Linked DNA regions of Homo sapiens: regions 2, 3 and 4 are each linked to region 1. Evidence: promoter capture Hi-C in human tissues and cell types (Jung and others, 2019). All regions are on one chromosome and are shown on one strand. Each heading gives the region's core, a stretch centred on a gene start or on the middle of the fragment in contact. The rest is flanking DNA. Distances are from core to core; before and after follow the strand shown.

The links. The method cuts DNA at HindIII sites, captures the fragments that hold promoters and counts their contacts. A contact is called where the count stands out against the background at its distance.
Region 2: a fragment that was not itself captured here is called in contact with the fragment with the promoter of ABRA in region 1 in 1 of the 25 tissues and cell types used here (mesendoderm cells).
Region 3: a fragment that was not itself captured here is called in contact with the fragment with the promoter of ABRA in region 1 in 1 of the 25 tissues and cell types used here (dorsolateral prefrontal cortex).
Region 4: a contact is called between a fragment that was not itself captured here and the fragment with the promoter of ABRA in region 1, in 1 of the 25 tissues and cell types used here (lymphoblastoid cells).

The regions. Positions count from the first base shown.
Region 1 is chr8:106,768,730-106,771,697 of GRCh38, forward strand. It overlaps ABRA (actin binding Rho activating protein), which reads right to left and starts at 1,515. Exons shown (of 2, transcript NM_139166.5): 1 at 794-1,515. The coding sequence starts at 1,461. The HindIII fragment of the contact is 12,258 bases long and covers 1-2,968 here.
Region 2 is chr8:107,481,345-107,484,164 of GRCh38, forward strand. The region is part of intron 1 of ANGPT1 (angiopoietin 1); the gene reads right to left. Among named protein-coding and RNA genes, the nearest start is that of ANGPT1, 15 kb to the right of the region's middle. The HindIII fragment of the contact is 4,650 bases long and covers 1-2,820 here.
Region 3 is chr8:105,912,489-105,915,218 of GRCh38, forward strand. The region is part of intron 2 of ZFPM2-AS1 (ZFPM2 antisense RNA 1); the gene reads right to left. Among named protein-coding and RNA genes, the nearest start is that of ZFPM2-AS1, 150 kb to the right of the region's middle. The HindIII fragment of the contact is 3,555 bases long and covers 1-2,730 here.
Region 4 is chr8:105,935,849-105,938,756 of GRCh38, forward strand. The region is part of intron 1 of ZFPM2-AS1 (ZFPM2 antisense RNA 1); the gene reads right to left. Among named protein-coding and RNA genes, the nearest start is that of ZFPM2-AS1, 120 kb to the right of the region's middle. The HindIII fragment of the contact is 5,725 bases long and covers 1-2,908 here.

The DNA.
Region 1 (2,968 bases), core at 265-2,764:
TTAAAGCCATTCTCATGCCTCAGCCTCCCGGGTAGCTGGGATTACAGATGCACAACACTGTGCCTAGCTATTTTTGTGTGTTTTTTGGTAGATATGGGGTTTCACCAATGTTGGTCAGGCTGGTCTCAAACTCCTGGCCTCAAGTGATCCGCCCTCCTCAGCCTCCCAAAGTGCTGAGATTACAGGCTGAGCCACTGCGCCCAGCTGATGAAATCACCTTTAAAAATGACTAGTTAGGGGCAGAACTAGGATTTGAACTTGGGTCTGTCTGACTTCATTCAGAGCCTGCTTTCAAATTAGACAGCAGCCTCCACCTGTTTAGAGTCAGAGATTTGTATTCCATGGGTGTTATTGAAGCAGACGTATCTCCTGATAATAGCATAGACATTTGGGACAAGGTAAAAGTTTCCCCAATGAGTCTATCAGAAACCACTCTTATCTCTAAAGAAATAAGCCAATTTGTTACTCATTATAGAACTGACTTAAAGAATTCACGAAAAACAGGCTTCCCTCTCTGATGGCTTCATCTTTGTTGAGGCTAAGACTTGAGTGTTCAGTTCAAAACAAAAACGAGAAACAAAATAGCGCAGGCCCTGACCAAAAGGTCCATGTCTAAGGTTGGCACTGACCTTCAGCCCAGGGACATCCCTCCTCTACAGTACTCACTGCCTGTCCAGTCTTTGAGATTCTCACTCTAACCCTGGCAGGACTTCATCTGCTGCCTGGATTCCCAGACTTGGTTGGGGCTCAATAGTGATCCTGACACAAGGAGTGGGAGAATGCATTCACTTACTGGGAGGGCAAGGGGCGCTTGATCCTGACCACAGCCACCTGCACTCCATCCTGCTCGGGCCTCTCCTCAGCCTCTCCTCCATAGCCGCTGTCCTCTGTGTCTACGCTGTCACTCCTCCATGTGGGCTCCTCCTGCTCCATCACTCTCCAGCCCTTGGTTAGCTCAGACACCAGGTTGGCACATTTTCTCCTCCGCGTTGGGGAGCCGTGGCTGTGGAGGATTCTGTCAATGTCATTCTCTGGCTGCCCAGGTTCAAGCACACCAGCATCCCTCTCGTACCTGTGGCTGAGGTGGCTCACGTCCCCTCCTCTCTCATAAGTCTTGCTGACCACCGTTTTGGACACCTCTTTCTTTTTGATGTGAGAAACCTCAGGGGCTTTCTCTGAGCTTTGTCCATCTCCATGTCCTTCTGGCAGGCGGGGTGGCGACTTTGGGGCACTCTGAGCTTTCTGGTGTGAAGTAGGGGGTGTGATTGGTTTAGGAGCTTGAGGTGAGTCCTGGGTCCCTCCCGGCAGCCAGCCTGTAGGCTCCTGGGCCTGCCTGATGCTGTTCTCATTCGCCCACTGCTGCCAACCTCGGGCCAAGCTGATGACCAGGGTGGCTGTGCGTATCTTCCGGAGGGCGCTCTTGGCTGGGCCCTCCCCGCTTTCCTTTTCGCCCGGAGCCATGCTGCCCACCTGTCTTTCTCTGCTGATAGCCTGGACACTGGCTAAAATGAGTGTGGTCCAGTGGAGTGCCTGGGATTTAAATAGAAGCAGGGTGCGGGGTGGGAAGGAGAGCTTAGTGACGATGGAAACTATGTGAAGCATTTCTTGCCAAGATGTGGCGCCTTTGCCCTGATGGTGTTCTTTTTATAAATCATGACAGCTCCAGTTTCATCACGGCAGAGGGACATCTCTGCTGGTAAGGAACAGTGATATGCTCACTCTCTTCTCCAAGTGCCAGAGTGGAAATTACTAGATCAAGTCATGTGCTCAGCCTTACGTTTGTCTGACCTTAATATGGTCCTACCATTTATAGGTGCATACATATTATCCTGGGAACATTATAGGATTGTTCCCACTTAAACCCCAGCAGCCCTCAGTACAGCTCCTAATTAGTTCCACTTTATAGCTAAGTAAAATAAAATCTAACTTCCAGCAGCTAATAAAATATGAGATTCAAATCCATCTCTGTGTAATTCAAAGCGTGTGCCTCCTTTTATTCCAGTTATCAAAGATCCTAAGTTGCCTTTTTCTTTTTCATTCAACTCCATTAGAAATAGACCTTAGAAAATCAACTCATCCAATCTTCATTTTCCAAATGAGAAAATTGAAGCCCAGATACGAGAAAGACCAAAGTCCAGATAGTCAAAGACTAATTACTTTCTAGTCCCAACTTTGAACTATTGTATAGATAACTCATATTAAAATACAAAAAGGGAGTCAAAATTTTGGTCCAATCATTAAAAAATGTTTTTAAAACCTGTATACACATTGGATTTTAGAAATTATTATTGGAGGCCGGGCGAGGTGGCTCACGCCTGTAATCCCAGCACTTTGGGAGGCCGAGGCGGGCAGATCACGAGGTCAGGAGATCGAGACCATCCTGGCTAACATGGTGAAACCCCGTCTCTACTAAAAATACAAAAAATTAGCCGGGCGTAGTGGCGGGCGCCTGTAGTCCCAGCTACTCGGGAGGCTGAGGCAGAAGAATCCTGTGAACCCGGGAGGCGGAGCTTGCAGTGAGCGGAGATCGAGCCACTGCACTCCAGCCTGGGTGACGAGCGAGACTCCGTCTCAAAAAAAAGAAAGAAAGAAAGAAAGAAATTATTGTTGGAATACATATTTTGAAATACTTTGTTTGAAAAGATCATCTAAGGACAGAATTCTAAGGACAGAATAAATGAAAGCTATCGGTAGCTCACTTCTTATCCCCATCCCGCCTACCCTTACCGTTTGGTTTGTGGTTGTTGTTTTGTTTTGTTTTTTGAGATAAGGTCTTGCTGTGTCCCCAGGCTGGAGTGCAGTGGTGTGATGATGGCTCACTGCAGCCTTGACCTCCTGTGCTCAATCAGTCCTCCTGCCTCAGTCTCCCAAGCAGCTGGGAATACAAGCATGAGCCACCATGCCTAGCTAATTGTTTTTGTTTTTGTTTTATATAGACGGAGTCTCGCTATGTTGCCCAGGCTGGTCT
Region 2 (2,820 bases), core at 51-2,550, 710 kb after region 1:
CAACATGGTGAAAGCCCATCTCTACTAAAAATACAAAAAATTAGCCAGGCGCGGTGGCGGGCTCCTGTAGTCCCAGCTACTTGGGAGGCTGAGGCAGGAGTATCACTTGAACCTGGGAGGCAGAGGTTGCAGTGAGCCAAGATTACACCACTACACTCCAGCCTGGCAACAAAGCAAGACTCTGTCTCAAAAAAAAAAAAAAAAAAAAAAAAGGAAGAAGAAAAGAAAATCTGTAAAAGGTACTATATTAGTCCAATCTCATGCTGCTATGAAGAAATACCCGAAACTGGGTAATTTATAAAGAAAAGAGGTTTAACTGACCCGCAGTTCCCAGTGTCTGGGGGGAGGCCTCAGGAAACTTACAATCTTGGCAGAAGGCATCTCTTCACAGGGCTGCAGGAAAGAGAATGAGTCCCGAGCGAAGGGGGAAGCCCCTTATAAAACCATCAGATTCCGTGAGAACTCACTCACTATCGTGAGAACTCACCCACTCTCATGAGAACAGCATGGGAAAACTGCCCCCATAATCGAATTCACCTCCTATGAGGTCTCTCCCACAACACGTGGGGATTATAGGAACTACAATTCAAGATGATATTTGGGTGGGGGCACAGCCAAACCATATCAGGTACTTATTTCCCTTCAGTTAATAATGAAAAAAAGACTGCATTGATAATGATTAAATTCCCGGACCTTCAGTTCTTTAGGGATGGACTAAGATGGCTGGTATCACGGCTTATATGAGTGAGTTGAACCTGATGTAGCTTATGTTAAGAAATAAAGTTTACATTTTCATTTTTATCTTTCAATTATTTTCTTCCATGAATTTTTTGAAGTTCCGTCATATTACCCTCCAAATTTAGTAGTTTGTAACAACTATTTGATTATGTTCATTGGGCTGTCAGACTCTATGAGTCAGGATTTCAGAAAAGGAACTGTAGGGATGGGTTGTTTCTACTCCATGATGTTCTGAACCTTTTCCGAATCTAGAGATAGTGCAATGGGTGGGGACCAGAAAGCTTTGAAGGCTCATTTGCTCCCATGTCTAGAGCCTGAGTTGAGGTGACTCAAATATGGAGACTCACTAACCACAGCACCTACACATGCCTTCTCCATGTGGCTTGACTTCTTCACAACACCATGGCCTTGGGGTATATGGACTTCTAACACAGTAGCTCAGGGCATGAGTATTGTAGTGCACAAGATGGGAATTCAATTCCCTTTTATGGCCCAGCCAGATTCAAGGGGAGGGGAACTCTTCATGAGAGGGTGGCATATAAGACAGGAAGTGCTATTATAATCATTTACCATCCAGTCCTGTTCTCTACCTATTACTTGTACTTTTTCTACCTTGTTAAATTAAAAAAGAAATAACTGTATGTCTTTACATAGCTTTATTACTCAAATATGGTGAGGTGGGTGTGTTTTGTTCTAACTTTTAAAAACTATATATAATTTTTTAAACTCGATCTTCCTTAAAGATTCCAGAACACCTCCACTGAATGAATGGGTTGGAATGATGTGTCCTTCTGATGAAAATCACCACTTCGCCATTGATTTCTCAAATGCCCAGTAATCAGAGGAGGAACAAACATACATTAATCTCATTTTTCACAAGAGGATATTTTGTATCTGACCAGAAAAGGAGCTTTCCAAATATTTGGTGAATTATTTGAAACATTAAAAAAAAACTTTAAAATAGGCTTATAGAGTTTATTTGAATTCTTTAGTTGTTTATGATATCTTTTTGGCCATAATCTTCAAAATTAGATCCAATGGAAGACATTTCAAAATAGTAGGATACTATATAGAGATAATTTATGTTCAGGGTAATTCATTTCCCTAATGACCTTTTCCTTGCAAATTGCACAAGTTTGATTTGTGAACTCAAAGTATGTAAGCTTTAGTCTCATATGAAACATAACAGTCATAAAATAAAAATTTCTTTTTCCTCTTTGACAGGAAGACTTCTTAGTTTCTCTCTATATTCAATTCTCAGTTAAGAGCTTTCCTTGTTGAAGGCTGAGTATGAGTTTTCCACTGCTATTGTCAGCTTTTATCATTTATTTGAACCAAGGTCTCCTTAGTACATTAGTTTATCTTGACTGTCAGTAAGAGATACTGACAGTTTCACCTTCACAAGTGTTTATTAATTTTCTTTTCTTTTTTTCTAAGCATAGACTGGAGATCAGTGACTACTTTTTTCATATTCTTATCATACTGATGAACTTTTAAAAAAATTCAAAACATATATGGCATAAGGTCTTTTAAGTGATGACTCTTCCCCAGAATATTACAAATAGTACCCAATTTATTAATGTTGAAGATGTTAAATGATTCTCCTCTATTGACTATATTTTATTTTTTATTTGTTTTTTAGCTGAAAGAAATATAAGAAATACAACCTAATACTGTAATGAAGTGTTCCTGAACAAAAATACAGATAAGCTGTTTTAAAATATTATCTTTATTTGTATGCTCATATCAGGATAACTCCAACTAAGGCAATTTGTCTAAGTAGCTCATTTATTTAAAAAGAAAAGTAAAAATAGCAATGAATTATTTGCCTCTGACATATTTGTGAAAGTTTTTTAAGAATTGTGCTGGGATGGGAAAGATGCCTAGGAAGCATTTTCCCTAAGAACATCAGGCTTCTTACAGCAATTTATACACATGTATGGTAAATTATTCTCATTGCCAAAGATGGTTATTTAGTATGGATAGATTCTCCAAAAACTTACAAGACATCATCATTCATCTGAATCTCTTCCCTGCTCCCCACCATTCAGAATTTGTTGTAATTTGTGAAAGAAAAGTGAA
Region 3 (2,730 bases), core at 54-2,553, 860 kb before region 1:
TACAAATATAAAAAAAGATAATTAAACACCTTTCTAAAAAAAATTGACCATTCTTAAAAAAGTATAAGCTTGGCAATTTATAGGAAAAAGACTGCAAATAATCCCAAAAGATATATATCTTCCCTAATAATCAGAATCATCTCATGGGATATTAGCAATGGAATATAATTTCCTCACTCCTGGTTTCCATGAAGAGGCACATTCTCACATTCCTTGCACCTCTCTGTTCTTTATTTTCCTTTCCCCGGGGGAGTGGAAGTGAGTTGTTTGCAAAGTAAACTCGTGAAGGGTTACCTCCTTTGCTTAGCTGAGCTCCAACCTCCTTCGCCACCATTTCCATCTTCTCCCTGCTCTGCTCACAGGAAGGGAGGTAAAGGTTGGTAGAAGACCAATGCTGCTGTGACTGATGAGTCAATCTTCTTATTCTGGGGCTTGCATAACATAAAAGTAGTGCATTTGGATCCCACGTTAATCCATCACCTTCTAAACTGGCCTATATCAATTGTATAGATGTTAGTTTGGACTTGTCTTTATATTTACCTATTTGTTTATTGGAAAAGATGGATGCAGTTTATTGTCTTGTAGATCCTAACATATTGGTCATAATTTACATGCATGCTCCATTAACAGTCAATACATAGAGAGTTAAATATAATTATCACTGAGAGCTTGGATTTACAAAATTGAGCTTAACCAATCAGGATCTTAAAAACAGTTAAATAGAAATAAAAATCTCTTTAAATTGAAATATGGGTGTTGATCACCCTTTAAGACTTTAATACTTCATGTTCCCTTATATTTCCTCATTGGAGGGTTTCCAGAGCACTTAAGTTTGAATTAAATATTTTCTTTCCCAGTTCCTCTATTACATGTTATACTGTTAGTGTAGTGCTTGCCAAAATCCACCTTGTCATACAAGCATTTGTGTATTGTTTTCACTGGAAATCAGGGGCCCATGGGTTATTGTAATGATATGCTTCCAGTTTCTAGGTACATGCCCTGCATACCCAATAAGCATTTATAGAAATCAATTAAATCACAGTTTCCTTGGAAGATAACAAACAGCAAATAGTTGGATAATAAAATCACATTTGTTCCACTTTACGAAATAGTTTTAGTTAGATTAGATGACTTTGCATTTTTTTTAACTCTGTAATGACCTATATCTCTATGACGTTTTACGGAAATTTAATTTGTATAAATTAAAGTTCATCTAATGAATATTATTTAATGGAGCCGGCAGTGAATCATTCTATACATGAACAAATACTTGGTAATTGGAATAATTACTTCCTGTATCCCTTTTTCTGATATTCCTCTTAACATACGTGTTTCTTAAGTCTATTTTTTCCTATTATTCTTTTAAGAACTGCAGTGTAGATATTATTTTTAGAGTGGCAGATAATTGACATAATGTGACTATCTCAATTTGTTGAAATTCTGTCCTTTAGGAACTGATGATCATAAGATCATAAGATGTAGGAACCTCCATTTAGTCAAGCATTTTATAAAGAACAAGTGATAACATAGAAGCCTCGATACTATGGAAAGAACTAAAGGTTTATAATGAGAGAATCTGGCATATAACCCTGGACCAACCACTTATTAGTTGTAACTTTTGGCAAATAACTTATTGTGGATGATTTTCACATATGAAATTGGATGATTATTTCACTAGGTAATTGAGAAGATCAAGTAAGATTATTTATGTAAATATGCATTGCAAATTTAAAGCTTTATATAAACATTAATTGTTAACATTATTTTTAAAATATCACATTTGTAGATGTCTTTCTCTGGTCTCATTGTTACTACAAAGATGTTCATCTACTTGATGAATTCCCTCCCACATGGGCCTACTTCTCTGTTTATATATTATCTTAGGAAACACTTGTTTTAAAAGAACAAAAATGTACTCAAACTAGTATAAGTTAAAAAAAGCAATTAAATTATTAGGAAGATTGATACCAATCCTTAAGCAAGAATTTCTTATACTTTTTAAGAACTTTAATACTATCAGCAGACTCCATCAGTGTCCCGACATTAATTCTGAGGCAAAAAGAAAAATCTGATTGGAACCTTGTTTTACCAATGTTTGTACGCAAACTCACCTGGAAAAATTCATGAGCACCTTATTTCTACCAGTTAGAGGGAGTGCAGAATGGAAGCAAATACTCAAAGATTGTGATGAACATGGGAATGGACATGGACATTTTCACTCATGCTGTCTTAATTAACAGGATTATTGTTTATGGTCAGACTCTGGAGGCCTAACTTGATTAACAGCGTAAATATGTATGTAGAATATCTCACCCAATATTAGCACACAATAGTCATTCAATAAATGGTAGCTTTTATCCCTGGTTTCACATATACTTAAAGGTAGGTATTTCAAAAACATCTATTGAGTAAATGAATTAGTGATTAATAAAAATTTAATAAAATCAAGTGAATGTACTAAAAGCAACTCAGTTTCCACTTATCTTCTTTTTTGTCCATAACTTAGGTCTCAGGATTAGAAGAGCTAATTTTCTGTAAAATCTGTCCTTATTACCAGTCTGTACCATCTTAGAGGAAATATAATACTATTGAATATAATCATACTAAGAAGCTAAGGAAGCTATATTGAGTTTGGGAGGCTTTTGTGGACTTTCCTAAATAATCAGGTTTAAGTGTTCAAAGTGAGAAAATTCTGAAAAGCATAACGTTTTCATATATGTTACCCTGATT
Region 4 (2,908 bases), core at 8-2,507, 830 kb before region 1:
AGATATCATAAAATTCATGCACTTAATTCATAGGAATGCCCATGACATTTTACATGTGATCTGAAGTGTTGAATGATCTAGTTTAGAAACTCAAAAAACATGAAAGGCCAGCAATAATAAGAGGACAAATGAATGCTTCTAAAGACAGATACCTTTTGCAACAAACAGTAAGTGCTTTCAGCCTAAGTGTGATGGGGAAGACAAAAATAAAATCTAAAAATTGGTGGTAAGAAATTTTAGACTGGACAACGTAGCAAGACCCAGCCTCTACAAAAAATTTAAAACCTTAGCTGGGCATGTTGGTGTATGCCTGTGGTCCCTGCTACTTGGGATGCTGAGATGGAAGGATCTGTTGAGCCCAGGATGTCTAGGTTGTTATTAGCCATGATTGTGCCATTGCACTTTAGTCTTGGCAAAAGAGCAAGACCTTGTCTCCAAAAAGCAAAATAACAAAAAAGGAAACCTGAATATCCAATATTCCATGACTAAGTCCTACCTGTTGGATTAGCCCTGGGAGCCTCGTTGTATAAAATTACAATACAGTCATTTACACTGAGAATGGTGACCCCCTCAGCTTGAATAGTGTATAATCAATTTTGGAAATAATACCATTTTCAACATGCTTAGGGTTATAAGTGGTCAGCTTCATTTTTTTTTGATTGAATGCTTAATGAAACACTTCATTTTTCTCATGATACTGAATTTTTAATGTTTTCTGAACTATAGAAATAATATTTTTAGGAAAAGATCATAGATTCTTAAATAACATATTTAAACATTCTGATTCATTCATCTATTCATTTTTATATTAACCAACTGCTTATTGAGTTTATTCCCTGTGTGAGACACTCTTCAGAATGCGTTGAAGAGTCTGATCTTTCTCTGTTTTTAATAACCTTTCTCCTTGTGAGAAAAGAAAGAAAGCATATCAGTGCAGTTACAATTTATGCAAGACTCTGAAGCATTTTTTAATGCTTTGGGACAACTACTCAGAGAAAGCTGTAAGAGTACAAATTACCAAACAAATCCTATTATTCCTTTCCTCCTCCTTTATAACTGATGCAACAAATGAGAAAATGTAAATGTAGCATATTGCAAATCGGTGGCTTATAAGAAATACACAAGTAAATGAGATAAATATTTGCCCAATGAACAAAAATGTAAATATGTTTTTTCCTAAGAGGATACGATCAAAGGTAGATGATAAATAACTTCTTAATAAAAGTGTATAAGAAGCTAGTTCTTTTTACTTGATCCAAATGTACCATTTCAAATATTTGTAATGCTGCTCTGGAAATGCATACTTACAATATCTAAGTCTAAGTTTATCCAATTGAAACCAAGAGCAGGTCTATTGATATGACACGGTTTGGCTGTGTCCCCACCCAAATCTCATCTTGAATTGTAATCCTCATAATCCTCATGTGTTTAGGGAAAGACCCAGTGGAAGGTGATTGGATCATGGGAGCAGTTTCCCCCATGCTGTTCTCATGATAGTGAGTTCGTTCTCACGACATCTGATGGTTTTATAAGGGGATCTTCCCCCTTCGCTACTCAATCTTCTCTCTCCTGCCACCATGTGAAAAGGTGTTTGCTTTCCCTTCACCTTCTGCCATGTTTATAGGTTTCCTGAGGCCTCCTCTAGCCATGTGGAAGAGGTCAATTAACCTCTTTCCTTTATAAATTACCCATTCTTGGGTACTTCTTTATAGCAGTGTGAAAATAGACTAATACATGAGATAACATATGAAAATACAAATCCAAACCCCGCTTGGCAGTTTTTTCCTCATTTTTGTTTCTGTACTTAATGAGGACTCCAAAATTTACAGAAGGTTCTTAAACAGAATCAAATATGTTGGCTTGTCAATGCCTAGAAATACATTCCACAGTGCAGGTCCTGCTCCTTTGTTGATTTTCACTTTCCTCAAAATGCTTTTGTGGTTGGAGTTGTGTTCTCTTGAAATATGTTTTTTAATAGTAAACAACTAAAGAGGGAATTGTATCATTGAGTCAGTGAGCATTTTATGAACATAGAATCTACATCACCAGGAGACAATCAGATGTGTTAAAAAAAAAAAAAAAAGAAAAAACTAAGAAAATGTTGAAGGACTCAATCAGTGCTTTCGTCAGAAAAGTTCTAAATCCAAAAATTGGCCCCACTCAATGAGTACTTGTACACAGTACAAAAAACAACAATTTTGTCTTGAGATGTGTGTGAGATGCTGATGGCAATTACATTCAGACTCCAATTTAATATTATGCAGGCAATTTATTGATTACATGTCAGATCCTCAGTTGTTTTGCATATATTTTCCATTAATGGCCTCAATGATCTTCTGAGATATTACAGTCATCTTTTTATAAATGATTAAACTATCATTCAAATGATTTTGAATGGCTTTTCCAAAGCCACCCAGTGGGTAAATGACAAAAGTAAGGATTTAAACTCTTTTGTATGATTTTCTTTTTTCTTTTTTTTTTTTCTTTTCTTTTCTTTATAGATAGGGTCTTGCTCTGTTGCCCAAGCTGGAGTGCAGTGGCACAATCTCAGCTCACTGCACCCTCGACCTCCTAGATTCAAGCTATTTCTCCTACCTCAGTCTCCCAAGTAGCTGGGACCACAGGTGTGAGCCACCTGGCCCAGCTGGTTTTATTTTATTTTATTATTTTTTGTAGAGATGGGGTTTTGCCACGTTGTCCAGGCTAGTTTTGAACTCCTGGGCTCAAGCAATTTGCCCGCCATGAACACCCAAAGTGCTGGGATTACAGGTGTGAGCCACCAGTTCTGGCCTCTTTGGTATGAGTTCAAGGCCCATACCCTTTCCACAACTACCATCTAACTTTATATATATATATATATATATATATATATATATATATATATATATATATATATATACATATACAT